Linked DNA regions of Homo sapiens: region 1 is linked to region 2. Evidence: promoter capture Hi-C in human tissues and cell types (Jung and others, 2019). All regions are on one chromosome and are shown on one strand. Each heading gives the region's core, a stretch centred on a gene start or on the middle of the fragment in contact. The rest is flanking DNA. Distances are from core to core; before and after follow the strand shown. Region 1 holds the start of ZNF773 (zinc finger protein 773). Region 2 holds the start of ZNF256 (zinc finger protein 256).

Region 1 (3,093 bases), core at 165-2,664, 450 kb after region 2:
CCCAACACTTTGGGAGGCCGAGGTGGGCAGATCACAAGAGCAGAATTCTGTCTCAAAAAAAAAAAAAAAAGAAAGAAAAAGAAAGACAATGTGGGTTTCCTTTTGGCAATCTGGCTGCCTGCTATATACTCCCCTGAAGACCATCCTGCTGAGAGCCCTCCCTTCTACTGGAGCAGTTGATCATCCCACCTGTGCTGATAGCTAGGGAAACTTAGGCACCAAAGGTGCTGCTCCACCAGCCTGGCTGACCTTTCCTTTTCTCCATATGGACTGGACATGAGGAACTACTAAGCCTGGAGTGGCAAACCTATATACTACCCAACACTGCGGTCTCCATCCAGTCCTGGGTGTTCATACTCTATAACCCTCCATTCCTGCAGGCACCAGACAAAATCACTTCGGACCACGAAACTCCAGGCTGTAGAGGCTGCCCCATCCTACAGGCCCATCTCTCCCTTCCCTCACCTCAGGGACCATCTGAAAGAAAACTTTAAGATTCTCCCTCCTAAATACGAGCCCCAGGCCTTCCAGCTGCTCATGTGGACATGACACCTCCACTCTGGGACATCTCAGGATCACCATGCCCAAAACCTATTCCCTGCACAGCCTTACCCATCTCCATCCTTCCTGATATTCAGGAACAAACAAAAATACAAATAAAAATCCAGAATGGCTCTTCATTCCCTACTTTCTTTCACAGTCACATCTGATGCAACAGGAATTCCCGTCTGTTCAGTTTTTGAAATCCATCCAAGATCTGATCACTTCCCCTCCTCTGTGGCCCAGTCCCAGTAGACTCTCCACTAGTCTACTGAATTTACCTACTCACAGGTCTGTCTTCACCCGCCTCACCCCCACCCCAGTCTGTTTTGACTTGAAGGGCCTTTGGCAAACTTTGAGAAACAGATCTTGTCACTCTTCTGTCTCCAGCCCTCCGCGGCCACTGTGGCCCCCTCAGGATGAAAGCGCAGCTGCTCGGGCTGTCGCTCGACACGCGCCTCGTCCCTTCCCAAGCTGCCCACTACAGACACCAGGAGGCCTCAGGTTCGGGACTCGCTGAATGCGCCTCACATCTTTGCGAGCCGGGCCCCTTGCCCTCCATTGCCACCCCATCACACTGCGTGTCAGAAACGGGACGCCGCCCACGAACGCCCCACAGTTCTGCACCCGGGGACCTGAGCAGGCGGCCCTCACAGGGCTTTAGGATTCGGGGGAGGCCGGGAGGACGCGGCGCTCACCTGAGCGGGGTCCCTCAGCGTGGCCGCCGCCATCGGAGCCTGTGGCGGTGAGACAACGACCGAGGAAAGGGCCCGGGCCACCCTGGGCGCCGCCACCGAGCCTCAGACCCGCCTCTGAGCTGCGAGAACACAGCGCGTCCCCACCGCGCTTTCCGGAGCTGGTCGCCGCAGCGAACAACCAGCTTCCGGCAAGCTGAGTTCTCTTGAGGGCAGCGAAAGCAACCGCCGAGGGGAGACGCCGGAAGTCCCGCCCATTGCGCGTCGCACTCTCGGGTAGACCTCTTTTCATTGGCCAAGCATCGCGGCTCACGGCGCGGCGCCTTCTGGGCAGTGTAGTTCGCGTGGCTCCAAACTTCGAGGAAGTGGGCATAACTTCGGAGATGGAGATTGGAGACGGTAGATGATGGAGATGGAGATGGAGATGGAGATGATGGAGATGATGGAGATGGAGATGATGGAGATAGAGATGATGATGGAGATGGAGATGATGGAAATGGAGATGATGAAGATGGAGATGATGGAGAAGATGGAGATGATGGAGAAGATGGAGATGATGGAGAAGATGGAGATGGAGATGATGGAGTAGGAGATGGAGATGGAGATGATGGAGATGATGGAGATGGAGATGATGGAGATAGAGATGATGATGGAGATAGAGATGATGATGGAGATGGAGATGATGGAGATGGAGATGATGGAGATAGAGATGATGATGGACATGGAGATGATGGAGATGGAGATGATGATGAAGATGGAGATGATGGAGAAGATGGAGATGGAGATGATGGAGTAGGAGATGGAGGAGAAATGAGTGTCGAGAACTCTCGGACTCATCTGGAACCTGTTGTAATTGGAGATGGGCCTGGATTTCAGTTTCCTGCAGCTGATACTCCAATCTTTCCTTCTTTTGAAGGACTTGAAGAGGATCTTCAGGGCCACCATAAAGAGGTTTCACTGGGCAAAGCCACGTATACCTTCCTAAATTTCCTTTGGCAAGGGGACACCCAATATTAATGCCTGATGTATGATAATAAGAAAAGGCTCTGAATTCTGGATGTAGGTGATGAGAGAGTAGGGGAGCCCAAGGATTTACGTTCCTCTTTCACCCCATTCTCATTTGTGTTCTTTCCTTCCTCAAGGACCCAACATTGGTGTAAAGGCACAACAACAGGCAGCAAACCCATAAGCCAACTCCCCCTCAATTTCTCCCCTTCATCCATTTCTGCTCCATATTCCTGTCACAGTTACTATGGGACTGAACGAAGGGGAACGAATGCAGAAATGAAAACAAAGGCAAAATAAATCTGTTTTAAAGAAGGGGTCAGGGGGCTTCTTGCTTCTAGTGAGGAAGGGCCCTGAGCTTCCACAGACCTTCATATTTATTGGGTAGAAAGAGTAGGGAGGTGGTGGCTTACGCCTGTAATCCCAGCACTTTGGGAGGCCAAGGCGGGTGGATCACAAGGTCAGGAGATCGAGACTATCCTGGCTAACACGGTGAAACCCCGTCTGTACTAAAAAATACAAAAAATTAGCCGGGTGTGGTAGCAGGTGCCTGTAGTCCCAGCTACTCGGGAGGCTGAGACGGGAGAATGGCATGAACCCGGGAGGTGGAGCTTGCAGTGAGTGGAGTTCATGCCACTGCACTCCAGCCTGGGCGACAGGGAGAGAATCCGTCTCAAAAACAAAAAAAAAGAAAAGAAAATATCGCTCTGGTTTTGTAATGATAAAATAGAACCTACATATATTTTGTGTTATGCATTCTTGGCATACCTATTTCAATGAATTCTGGTTTTTTGAAATTGTCTCAAATATTCAAAAATTTTTTCCAGTATATTTATTGAAAAACATTCACATA
Region 2 (2,767 bases), core at 13-2,512:
CAGAGGTTGTGGTGAGCCGAGATCGCACCATTGCACTCCAGCCTGGGCAACAAGAGCGTAACTAATGGGGGCAAAGATAATCATTTCAGCGTTGAGAAGAGATCTTGAATTTAAGATACACCCTACATTTGGGATTCAGAGCACCCTTTGTTCCACCTGTTAATGCTCTAGCTAGCCATCATGCCTTTTCAAAATACCATTCCTTTTGTTGTTCTCTTTCTGAGCTTGATGTCAAATTATTAAAAAGAAGTGAATATAAAGGCATGGAGAAAGTGAGATTAGATTCATGCAAGTGTTGCTTAGTGAATTGGACACAATGTTTGACTACACAGGCACGAGAGGGACCCAGAGACAGGGATCTACTTATGTCCTGCTGCTGCAGGGTGCCTCCGCATCCCACCTTCATCCTCTTTGTCATGAACCTGTGTGGAGTGTTTTTTTTCTTGTCCCTAATCAAACATACAGAGACTGAGAAAACTGACTCCAGTGCTTGAGTGCATGCGTTTGAATTGCAACATAGTCTTTTTTTTTTTTTTTTTTTTTTTTTTTTTTTGAGACAGTGGCTCGCTCTTTCCCCCAGGCTGGAGTGCAGTGGCGCGATCTCGGCTCACTGCAAGCTCTGCCTCCCGGGTTCAAGCTATTTTCCTGCCTCAGCCTCCGGAGTAGCTGGGGACTACAGGCGCCCGCCACCACACCCAGCTAATTTTTCTTTTTTTTTTTTTTTTTGTGGTATTTTTTGTATTTTAGAGACGGGGTTTCGCTGAGTTAGCCAGGATGGTCTCGATCTCCTGACCTCGTGATCCGCCCGCCTCGACCTCCCAAAGTGCTGGAATTACAGGCGTGAGCCACCGCGCCCGGCCGCAACATAGTCATATTTATTTGCTTTCTCAACCAGTGGATATATTTTGTGACTGACTGACTGTATGTAATAATATGTGCATCTGGATATGTGCCTCTGGGAACACATGAAATGACACGTCTCCAAACAAACACTGGCAGACAGCAATCGGTAGAAACCTGGGTACGTCTCCTTTAAGAAAGAACGAAGCCTCGCCTCCGCCCCAACCTGGAGTGTCCATTTCCCAGCGCCCCCTACAGGGGTTTGGCCTTTACTTCCGGAAGGAGGTGGAGGCGACCCTCACTCTCCCGCCGTGCGCCTGTGGGAACATTACCCAGAATGGCCTGCGTTGGGCGACGGCGACCTTCAGCCAATGAGGCCTCCGAAAGGTGGTGTTTCCGTAAGCGCACGCGCGGTCGCGGCGGGACTTCCGTTGTCCTCCTTGTGGCGGTCGTTTTGGCATTTGTCTGGACTGATTACTTGGTAGAAAGCCCCGGAGCGCTGGGTCAGCATCATCCGTGACTGACTGAGAAGGCGCGAGAGGAGTCTTCCCCGCTGCACAGAGGCGTGGCTGAGGCTCGGCGGCGCCCAGGGTACCCAGGCCCGGCCCGGAATAAGGACATCCTCTCTGGCCCCGCTCCGCTCACAGAGTCAGATGGCGGCGGCCGAGCTGACGGCCCCGGCCCAGGTATGTGCCGCGTCCTCTGGGCCTTCCCCGCCCTCCCCACGCTAGTCCTAGCACCCCCGAGGGCGCTTGCTCGCGGCCCTGCTGCCCAGGACAGGACACGGGGGCTCGCCGGAGGGGCTCCCGTTTCCAACACCTGGTGTGCTAGGGAAGGGAGGGCGCGACTGGCAAGGAGCCCCTGATGAGAGGCGCCACTGAGCCCTGGGGCACAGAGGTGACACAGCCATTGCGAGGGCACCCGGCTCCAAGGCCAGGCATGGGGCTACGGGGTGGCTTGAGCCCATCTAATACCGCCATAGATGCTCTTCTCTGAGGCCTGGCTCTTTCTACGTTTCCCTTGGCTGTAAAGGGTTATGAAATCTACGCCAGGAAGGGGAGGGTTTCCCAGTCTCTCACTAGCCCTAACTCCCACCCACAGGTTCTCTGGGTTGTGGAGTGCCATTCCCCCAGCCCTTAGTTCTGAAGACCTTGGGTGAACCCCAAGCCCAGGGTCCTATGTCCATGTTAGCCGGTATATAGAGTTGTTCCAATTTCTGGCAGCCATGTGAACGGGTGTGGAAAGTTTTTCCAGAAAGGTACAAGATGTGCAAATGCTTAGGTGCAGTACGGAGCTGGGTGCATTTATGAAGCCACAAGTCTCCTTGCTTTCTGGTGGGAAGCAAAGAACAGGAGGATAGGCGTCAGGACTGCAGTGGCTGCCTGAGAAGTTGAGTGTGTTTTCAGGAGGTAATAGCAAGTTTGAATCAGAAAAAAGAGGTAATTTACCAAGGTCTTCACAGGCTTCATCTGTGTGCACAGTGGGGCACAAACTGGGGGGTTGAGGGAGGAGGAAGGAAAATCAGGGTAGACTAGTCCAAGTGAGGGTTACTGGCCCAGGATCGTGATTTAGGAGATGTGGTTAGATTCCGGATGTGTGGTTTCAAAAGGGACAACTAAATTACATAATGTAGGTGGTGAGGGAGTGAAACAGAGGGTTCAGAGAAGACTCCAGGGTTTTTGGTATTAGCAGCTGTAGGGAAAGAAGTTTCATCAACTAAGATGAACAAATTGGCAATAGGAGTAATATTCACTAGGGATATCAGGTTTGTTTATGCCATGCTAAGAGTCAGATCTTTCAGAGCCTACTAAATGGAGGCGTTAAGTGGGCAGATGAACGTGCCGGTCTTGAAATCTAGGGAGTGGTTCAGGGTGCAGATATTCAAGATGTGGCTGTTGTGCGCACCAAGGTTAGTGAGCTGTGGGTC

What was found. Contacts are between HindIII fragments. The study calls those that stand out against the background at their distance.
Region 1: the fragment with the promoter of ZNF773 here is called in contact with the fragment with the promoter of ZNF256 in region 2 in 1 of the 25 tissues and cell types used here (dorsolateral prefrontal cortex).

The regions. Positions count from the first base shown.
Region 1 is chr19:57,498,259-57,501,351 of GRCh38, reverse strand. ZNF773 (zinc finger protein 773) reads right to left here and starts at 1,414. Exons shown (of 4, transcript NM_198542.3): 1 at 1,239-1,414. The coding sequence starts at 1,271. The HindIII fragment of the contact is 9,164 bases long and covers 1-3,093 here.
Region 2 is chr19:57,946,201-57,948,967 of GRCh38, reverse strand. ZNF256 (zinc finger protein 256) reads left to right here and starts at 1,262. Exons shown (of 3, transcript NM_005773.3): 1 at 1,262-1,526. The coding sequence starts at 1,494. RefSeq lists enhancers at 1,024-1,113, 1,184-1,283, 1,774-1,853. The HindIII fragment of the contact is 18,689 bases long and covers 1-2,767 here.